2 separate regions of the Homo sapiens genome follow, and region 2 is linked to region 1. The links are contacts of gene promoters, found by promoter capture Hi-C in blood cells and fetal thymus (Javierre and others, 2016). All regions are on one chromosome and are shown on one strand. Each heading gives the region's core, a stretch centred on a gene start or on the middle of the fragment in contact. The rest is flanking DNA. Distances are from core to core; before and after follow the strand shown. Region 1 holds the start of RELN (reelin). Region 2 overlaps LHFPL3 (LHFPL tetraspan subfamily member 3).

Evidence for each region. Contacts are between HindIII fragments. The CHiCAGO score rates a contact against its expected background, and 5 or more counts as called.
Region 2: a fragment that was not itself captured here is called in contact with the fragment with the promoter of RELN in region 1 in 1 of 17 cell types (total CD8 T cells); the score reaches 5.7 in total CD8 T cells.

Annotation. Positions count from the first base shown.
Region 1 is chr7:103,985,928-103,990,950 of GRCh38, reverse strand. RELN (reelin) reads left to right here and starts at 1,293. Exons shown (of 65, transcript NM_005045.4): 1 at 1,293-1,820. The coding sequence starts at 1,595. The HindIII fragment of the contact is 6,896 bases long and covers 1-3,447 here.
Region 2 is chr7:104,754,123-104,759,353 of GRCh38, reverse strand. The region is part of intron 2 of LHFPL3 (LHFPL tetraspan subfamily member 3); the gene reads right to left. Among named protein-coding and RNA genes, the nearest start is that of LHFPL3-AS1, 47 kb to the left of the region's middle. The HindIII fragment of the contact is 1,708 bases long and covers 3,120-4,827 here.

The sequences.
Region 1 (5,023 bases), core at 44-2,543:
ATGGGCCCTTTCTACCTGTCATTCGGTCTCAGTAAGAGGAAGAAAAACAATTTCTTCCTTTTGCAACGAAGTGATTACAGAGGTCTCCCCTTGGACCCTGATTTTCACCGCCCCTCGCCCCACAAATGCAGGCAAAGGCACTATCCCTTCCAATTTTATAATCTACTCATTTCTGTACGTGCGGGTTTATCTGGCTTGGTGGCAAGCCAAGGGTGGGTGGGGAGAGGCATTAAAACCTGGCAACCCCGCTCCCCCATCTCCGGATGCCGCAGGGCTCCTGCCAGCCGTCCTCGGTTAAAAACGTGCTTATGGATTATTTCACTTCCCTGCAGTTCATGTGCAGCCGCTCATTACCACCCGCTTCAATCACCGCTGCCAGCATCTCCCCTGAACGTTTTTCCCTCCCCCGATTTCAGGGCCATTGGTCATAACCGACATTTAAAGGAAATAAACACTGATTTAAAAAATTACAACACCCATCTCTGCCTGAAGAGCCCAGAAGCAATGAATAACAGAACAGTCCGGCGAAGAGAGCCTGTCGGATCTTAGCTCCGCCAGCCCTTCCTGCCTTACAATTCCCCACAACCGAGCAGCACAAATCACCATTTCCAGGCACCACTCGAGTCTGCCAATTCCACTTTCGCTTAATCTCATTTTAAAATCCTCTACAGATGAGGCTCTGTCGCTGCCGCGAGGGGCCGGGCGGCCGCGGCGGGAGGGACAGGGGGCCTGGGTGGGAAGGGAGCGCGAGGGCCCCTAGCGGTTCGCGGCCTCGGGCGGATTCCCAGAACGAGTGCGGGCCGCCCGGACTGGCAGACTGCGAGCCCCGAGGGGCGCGGGACGCAGCCGGCTCAGACAAAGAAACCGGCGCCAGCGGCCGTCCCTGCCGCCCCTCTCCTTCCCTCACGCATCCTCCCAGGAAAAACAGGGCACACTGACGGCCAAAGGGGCTGGCCTTCCCCTTCAGACAGCTGGACGGGAGGTGCCCTCTGCGGGGCTTTGACGTCCCTCGCAGAAGAGTCGCGGGCTCAGCGGTCCTCGACAGCGTCCCCGTCCCGCTCCCCGGCGGGCGCCCCTCCCTGTCCTCCCGGGTGCGAACCGGGCGCTGGCCGGGGACTCCGGGGACGCGTGCGCCCCTCGCCGCGCGAGGTGCCGCCGAGCCAGCCCGAGAGGGCGGGGGGCGGGCGGGGCGGCGCGCGGGGGCGGGGGAGCGGCCGGGACACGTGTGGCGGCGGCGGGGGGGACGCGGCGCCCGGGGCTTTAAGAAGGTGTGGAGCGGGGCGGGCGCTTTCCCAGGCCTGGCCGAGGGGCGTCGCGCAGAGGCGGCGGCGGCGCACGGAGGCGGCAGACGACGCGCTCTCGGCGCCCGCAGCCCCGGTCCCGCGCTCCCGCGGCCCAAAGTAACTTTGGGAGCCGCCGTCTCCCGCGGAACTTCTCGGCGGGGGCCCGCTCCCAGGCCCGCTCCCGAGCCCGTTCCGCTCCCGTCCGCCTTCTTCTCGCCTTCTCTCCGCGTGGCTCCTCCGTCCCGGCGTCTCCAAAACTGAATGAGCGAGCGGCGCGTAGGGCGCGCGGCGGCGGCGGCGGCGGCGGCGGCATGGAGCGCAGTGGCTGGGCCCGGCAGACTTTCCTCCTAGCGCTGTTGCTGGGGGCGACGCTGAGGGCGCGCGCGGCGGCTGGCTATTACCCCCGCTTTTCGCCCTTCTTTTTCCTGTGCACCCACCACGGGGAGCTGGAAGGGGATGGGGAGCAGGGCGAGGTGCTCATTTCCCTGCATATTGCGGGCAACCCCACCTACTACGTTCCGGGACAAGAATACCATGGTAGGTACCGCAGCACCTCCGCGCTCGCCGCCGCCGGGTGCGCCCGCCAGCGCACCTTTCTCATCCCTTTCCTTCTTCCAAGGGGCCTTGGAAACAAGAACCATGACAACCCTGGCCCCAGCGATGCGCTTGGTCCAGGGAGCGAGAATAAAGTTAGTGGAGAATGGAGTCACAAGTTGGGATTCATTCTCCATGTCCCCACTCCCCGAACGCATCTCCTGGTAATGAGCTGGTGCTTGTGCTAAACGCCTGAGAATTCTTGGAGGCCGGTGTCTTTCCCCCTCACTCCCCGTACTTACCGCAGGCACTTTAAATTGAACCTGCGCATTTTGTTTCTTTACTCCTAGGACTTGGATTTCAGACCTTTGTCCTGCTCCCGGTCCCCCCAGATGGGTCCCCGGGGGGGCGTTGGGGGCTGTCGCTGGGCTTTGCGGGCAGGCTGGTGACAGATTGAAGCGCCCAGGTCTGTGGCTGCCCCGCGCCGCTCGACCGCAAAGTTCCCGCTGCTCACCAGCCAGGAGTCCCTGGCATTTCATTCAGTGTCATACAGCCCTCCTGAAAGGGAGCGGCTGCTTCCAGCTCCCTATTCTTTTGAAAGTGTGATTTAATATGTCAGTAATTGATGATTTTTCTGATTCCTGCCTTACTTTTACATGGTGCTTCTTGTTAGAATTATCTTTGTGATGTTTATTAATGACTTTGTATTTTATCTGCACAGCTTTAATTTCCAGGTAGAGGCTGGAATCCCTTATAATTTAGAGGTATCTTAAAAATGGAATCATTATGCAGCCCTGCATCAAAAATAAACATTACAGAAGAAATAAAATTTAGCTCCAAGAAATATAATATTATGTAGTACATGTATTTTAAGCTAGTACATCGAGTATGTGGAAAAATAAAAAATGTCTCTTTTCTGTATTTCTTCTGGGACTTCTGAACATTTCATGCCTATAGAGCTTTTAAGCAGCGACAGGCACTATTTAATTAGAATTTCAACCCCAAAATATTTATACCCAACCAAATAGAAACCATTGTCCAGTAGGCTCCTGTTAATAGTTTCTATCTCTAATAGGCTAACAATCATTGGCATGGCGGGAGATAATCTACGGGGTGCTAGCACTTAAGATAGACAAGCATTTAAAAATTGTAAGAATCCTTAAGATTTTTCTGTTTTTAAAAAAACCTTGATATCTATTATAAAATATTTAGCCTAAATAAACGTCTCCTAGAGGTTTTAAACAGTGCTTTTACAACTTCCTTGTGGCATGGTGGCAGCCTTGTCTGTAAAGCAGAAGTTTAATTTGGTGGAATTTTAGAAATAATTTTGGAAAATTAATGTTCTGTAACTAGTCCCTTTTTAGATAAAAGTGCTTACTACGCCCTCTTCCCAAGAACAATCTAGTGCTTTTCTGAGATAATGAGAATCTTTAAGTGGAAGGAGCAGCTACTGTGATGGCAACCAGACCTAACCCAAAGCCTGATTGACAGCCTGCTGCTCCGTGCGACTCTTAGCAAAAGTTCTTGCCCGGTATGATCTCTCAGTGAGAACGGTGGGTAAGTGAGTGAGGCTGGTCTCAAAGGCGTGACTGTCAGGTTATGATGGAAGACCATGTGATGATACAAAGCTTTATTATTATTTTTTCTGTTTTCCACATCCTTTGGAAGGTCTCGATATTGAAAACTTAACTAAAAACACCAAAATATCATACACCCTTTGGTTTTGCTCCCTTGCACCCTTGAATAGCAAATGCAAGTCACCTTAAGACTCACCATAATCACATATCTAAGTCTGAAAAGGAATGGATAACATAGAGTAGAAATAAAGTGTAAATACTTCAAGTTGGACATTGCGGAGGAGAATCTCAATTTCCACCTCTTTTCCACCACCAGAAAAGGTAGAGAAATTGTATTATGTAAGTTATGAAAGGTCAAATTATTATAAGCTTTGAGAATTGTGTCAGATTTTAAATTTCTGTTATCTATTTTATTAAACATTTAGATTTTGGAACTAGCTGTAGCTATAGGCCTTAAAGTAAGAGTTTTTTTTTTTTTTTTTGTAAAATGTTCTACAGGTAGAATACATGTTTAAAAATGAAGTGATGCTTATGTATGTCTCTTTTCCTTTTAGGCTTTTGAAAATTAATTTAAAAAATTCAGACACACACACACACACACACACACACACACACACACACACACAGCTTCTGTTAGAATTGAACTGCCAATAGGAAAACTTAATCTCATGTACTTTTGTGGTTGGCCCATTTTGATATGTGACCAAAATGAAAGGTCTTTTGCCCAAGAAGTCTTCTTAAACTTACAAGAAATGTGTAAAATGTTAGCTTGAGACTTTATTTCTAACCTTCTGGATCTTTAAAGTGTAACAGTTATATCAGAAAAAATCAGTCACATTTATGATTTACATTGAAGTCACCATTTGAATGAACCATGTTTAGGTGTAGAGCTGATAGTTGTGACTTTTTTTTTTTTTTTTTTTTTTTACCTAAAAGAATGCATTGAGATAGAGGTGGTGTGCACAATAGCACCTAACATAGAACATTTCTGTAGATCAGTCAGCTGCCCTCTGACACTGGGGTGTGTGGCAGAGCTCAGAATGTAAAATGGGGCAGCAATTGCCAGTCTAGAATAAAAGTGGTTCACAATTATAGGTCCCTGTATGTGTCGTATTTAAATATATCTATGGAATATCTTTAACAAAAATAAAAAATATATAGTACTAAAAAATCTGGAGCTTTCGAGTCTAACAGAATTGTCACAGATTTTTACATTAAGTAGTATATCCATCTATTTTCAGTACTGGCAACTCTATAAATAGTGCATGGTTACATCTGGTGTGTTCTCATCTCTCAATTAAATGTCATTTGGTATCTCTTTCTCATCTTCATATATCTTTTAAATTATGTTATCTCTGACTCTTTTGAAAGGGCATTATTAGTCACAATGAACCATGAGTATACCACAATGTAGAAGCTCAGCGAAAGGAGGTCTCTATACATCATGTTGAATTAGAAAGGTCTCAGGGTCAGAACATTTTTTTTTTCCTAGAATTTCCTTTTTTTTTGCACAAATCCTAAGACATGGTCAGTTTCCGCAATGTGCGTTTCGGGCACCAAACCTGGAATTTTTTGTTTTGTTTTGTTTTGTGTGGTAGAAAGTTGCAAATGATGGGGAAATAGGAAACA
Region 2 (5,231 bases), core at 2,724-5,223, 770 kb before region 1:
ACAGGGACATGTATAAGCACATATGTGGCTCACAGAGTTAACTCTGAGTAACTCGGGCTTATTAATAATGTCCACTCCTAAGTAAAGTTCTATGAGGGATAAGTCCCCATTCCATCTTCCAGCACTCCCACACTGCTTTCATACAGGCAGAATCAAGAGACTTGCTTAGCCCCTCAGACATTCAAAAAAGTCAGCGTTCAGGAAATGGGAGTTCTTTAAGCATCAGCCCACTCTTATCTTCTCTTGCTTAACAACAGACAATAAAAGGCAGTTCTCTCAGATGTCTATTTGTCCTCGGCGTGACTTAAAAATCAGCTCAGGAAGTCATCTGTCAGTCAAGTATATTACAGAGAGAAACATTTGTGAAATTACCTGAGTTGAGATGTCTCAAATGACAATTTCTTATTTGCACAACTTAAATTATTCAAGACAACACAGACCTGCTCTAATCTTTAAAAAGACTTTAGGGTTACGAGGATTTGGTTCTCTGTGTTTTAAATATTTCGTCTTCTTTTAAGAACCCAACCCTATGGGAGACTCAGAGAGCATTCTAATGACAGAAAGAAGCCCCTCCTTGTGTGTACCTAGGACTGATTACATGCATCTATCTCGTAGCTTGTTTGAGTGACGCTTCCCTGAGAAAAACAACTAGTCACATGAGGAATGGGCCAGATGGTAGACAGATGACTCTATGCCTGAAAAATTGCATGAGTAATATCATTCTTTCACTTCAGTTTTATTTATTTATATATTTTTGGTGGGGTGCAGAAAGCTCCCAGTTAATTACATTCAAATAAATATAGGACACCTGCTTGATGCCAGGCACTATGCTAGCCACAGTGGGTAGAACTGAAAGAGACACGGTCCTATTCCAGCTTGAACTAAAATTGCTATAAATGACAAGCCCCTCTATACAGCCATGATTATGTTTTATTGATTTTCATGTATAGGGCTCATTGCTAGCTTTATTTTTATTTTATTTTAATAATTGCAACTTTTATTTTAGATTCGGGGGTACATGTGCAGGTTTGTTACATGGGTATATTATGTGATACTGAGGTTTGGGGAACAAATGATCCCTACTAGCGGATTACCCAGGTAGTGAGTATAGTACCCAATAAGTAGTTTTTCAACCCTTTGCCTGCCACTTCTTTCCCTCCTCCAGGAGTCCCCAGTGTCCATTGTTCCCATGTTTATGTCTATATATACCTCTCATTTGCAAGTGAGGACATGTGGTATTTGGTTTTTTGTTCCTCTGTTAATTCGCTTAGGATGATGGCCTCCAGCTGGATCCATGTTGCTGCAAAGAACATGATTTCATTCTTCTATTATGGCTGTGTAGTATTCCATGGTGTATATGTACCACATTTTCTTTATCCAATTCACTGCTGACAGGCACCTAGGTTGATTTCATGTCTTTGCTATTGTGAATAGTGCTGCAATGAACATACAAGTGCACATGTCTTTTTTGTAGAACAATTTATTTTCCTCTGGGTATCTAACCAGTAATGGAATTGTTGGGTCATATGGTAGTTCTATTTTTAGTTCTTTGAGAAATCTCCAAACTGCTTTCCACAGTGGCTGAACTAATTTACTTTCCCACCAAAAGTGTATAAGTGTTCCTTTTTCTCCACAGCCTTGCCAGCTTCTGTTGTTTTTTGTCTTTTTATTAATGGCCATTTGGACTGGTGTGAGATGATATCTCATTATGGTTTAGATTTGCATTTTTCTGATGATTAGTGATGGTAAGTATTTTTTTCCTATGTTTTTTGTCTACTTGTATGTCTTCTTTTGAGAAGTGTCTGTTCATGTCTTTTTTTAAATGAAGTTATTTGTTTTTTGTTTGTTGAGTTGTTTAAGTGCCTTATGGATTCTGGATATTAAACCTTTGTTGGATGCATAGTTTGCAAGTATTTTCTCCCATTCTGTAGGTTGTCTGTTTATTCTGTTGATAGTTTCTTTTGCTGTGCAAAAGTTCTTTAGTTTAATTAGGTCTCACTTGTCAGTTTTTGTTTTTTGTTGCAATTGCTTTTGAGGACTTAGTTATAAATTATGTCCCAAGGCTGATGTCCAGATGGTATTTCCTAGGTTTCCTTTTAAGATTTTATAGTTTGAGGCCTTACAATTAAATCTTTAATCCACCTTGCATTAATTTTTGTATATGGTGGAAGATAAGGGTCCAGTTTGATTCTTCCGCATATTGCTAGCCAGCTATCCCAGCACTATTTATTAAATAGGGAGTCATTTCTTCATTGCTTATTTTTGTCTACTTTGTTGAAGATCAGATGGTTGTAGGTGTGCAGCTTTATTTTGGGGTACCCTATCACTTTCTTTTTTCTCACTTGTAGGGCACCATTCTAGGTACTAGGCCTATGGTACAACAATGTTACATTTAAAAAATATTAAAGGCACATTTAAATTTAATTTTAGCATCAGTGAAAGAGATATTTTACGCACACAGTAGTGAAAAAAGTTGTCAGAATCTCTGCTTAATATTCAAAGCAAATAATGCTTTTCTGAATGAATAAATGCTTCTTTAAAAGGTAACACTGTGGGCTGGGCATAGTGGCTGATGCCTGTAATCCCAGCATTTTGGGAGGCCGAAGTGGGTGGATCAATTGAGGTCAGGAGTTTGAGACCAGCCTAGTCAACATGGTGAAACCCCATCTCTACTAAAAATATAAAAATTAGCCAGGTGTGGTGGAGCATGCCTGTAATCCCATCTTCTTGGGAGGCTGAGGTACGAGAATCACTTGAACCTGGGAGGTGGAGGTTGCAGTGAGCTGAGAGGGCACCACTGCACTTCAGCCTGAGTGACAGAGTGAGACTGTCTAAAAATAAATAAATAAATAAAAATAAAATTGTCGTGCTTAAAATGTAATATAGATACACATTTCAGATTGTTTAAGTATATCCTCCCCCATCCTAGGAGAAAAGATTTGTCTAAAAAGAGACTGGATATTAATTTCATTTCATTGTAACTGACAATTTTGTATTTATATTTTATAGATGCCAGACTCTTGCTGTTGATATTAGTATGAACATCAACATTAGGCTATAATAATAAGCTATCAAAGGTTCAGTGCAAGGTGTGTCTAGTTAAAAATTAGGAACAAGCTTAATAAAAACTTGTAAACTAATCTCAGTCCTTACTTCTCATTTGCTTTGGATTGAAGAAAGTGTGTGGAGTGTGAGTGTGTGCACGCATGTGTTTTTCAATGTCCCCAAACAGCACTATTTATCCAGCTGTCTACTTCCTTAAGGACAGATCTCCATCCCCACTCCCCATCCCAACCCCTGGCCCCATAGCAAGACTTATTTATCCTTAGTTACCAACTAGCTTATTAAAACTAATACTAGGCTGGGTGTGGTGGCTCACACCTGTAATCCCAGCACTTTGGGAGGCCAAGGCAGGTGGATCACCTGAGGTCAGGAATTCAAGACCAGCCTGACCAACATGGAGAAACCCTGTCTCTACTAAAAATACAAAATTAACCGGGCGTGGTGGCGCATGCCTATAATCCCAGCTACTCAGGAGGTTGAGGCAGGATAATCGCTTGAACCCAGGAGGCAGAGGTTGTGGTGAGCCAAGATTGTGCCATTGCACTCCAGCCTGGGCAACAAGAGTGAAACTCCATCTCAAAACAAACAAACAAACAAACAAAGAAACAAACAACAAACAAACACCAAAAAACTAATACTACACTAGTCACTGGGGCTTCTTCCATTAATATATGTGGGTGTTTCTCTCTGTGTGTGTGTGTGTGTGTGGTGGTGTTGGGGGTTGGGGGAGAGAAAGAGAGACAGAGAGAGAGACAGACAGACAGACAGAGAGACAGAGAGAACTTGCTTAGACCTGCTTTTTGCATCATCCAGCATTTAGTTTCCCTGCTTCCTCAGCTAGGCTATGTTCACTTTTTCTAGTCAATCATGAGAAGTATGTGACTCCTTGTGTGAATTGCATGAGTGGCCCCAATTCTACACCCTTCCCAGTACCCATGTCCTTTGTTGTGTCATTTTGTGGTGCTTTTCCCCTGTGTATGGGGTATATGGTCCAGCCATGACTTACTTTGGCTGATGGGATGTTAGCAAATGTGACATAGCAGAGACTCCAGAAGTCCTTGTGCTGCTGGGCTTGACTATTCTGTGCCGTGTCATCACCTGGAAGACATTCTAGTCTGCTAGTTCCAGGAAGAAAATGAGAGACATGTGGGGCAAAGCCACCCCCAGACAAATCTAGCCTAGATGTTCTAATCCCTAGACTTGTGAGGAATAATAAATAATTATCTCTTTAAGCCACTGAATATTGGGGTGGTTTGTATACAGAAATAGTCAATGGACCCACTTCCTTCTTCCTCCTCATGCAGACCCCGGATCCTCCCCTTCTCTACTCCTTAGATGAACCGCACTCTGCCCCCTAGCACCTGGTGACAAAAAGTGAGAACTTCTGTAGCACTAGGAAAATAGAAGAGAAAACAAGGGGAAAAAATGAGAGTAAAGGAGAGAAGACTATGCTGATGCCATCTGAGAGATTCCTATGGGAAAGATGGAAAAATTAACCATCACCATGCTCCTCCTGTTCCTTAATCAGTTCTCTCATATCCTTTCTTTTTCCCAACCCTTATTTCCTACTCTCAATGCTTTCTGTTCCCACTATTGATCTGCATCATGAGGCCAGGGTTCTTTCGCAATTATTGCTAACATTTATTGAATACTAATTATATATTAAGCACTGAGCTAAGTGCCGTACTTGGATTATGTGTTTTAAACCTCACTATGGCACTGTAAGATGGACAACATGGTCTATATTTTACACACGAAGAAGCTTAAGAGTCATCAAATGATTTGCTCAGGATCCACAGCTAGTAAGCAGTGAAGCTAAGGCTCTAATCCAGGCAGGCTGACAACAAAGCCTGTGCTCTTCCCCCTATACCACACTGTCCTTTCTTGTTGAATCCTCTTCATCCTCTCTTCCACTGCCATTCTTCTCCCCTTCCATAGGCAACCATTAACGTATATATTTTTATGTGAATATTTTTTGCACAGTGAAGATGGTTGTTTGGTACACATTGTTTCTAATTTATCTAAGTGATAATTATTTCTTATTTTATTCTGTTTCTTTTTTTTATTAAGCATTCTGTTTTTAAGATCCATACACTTCGCTATGTGTTCATTTAATTTGTTGCCTCTTACCTGCTACCTAGTACTCCATGGTTTCTACTCATCCCAAA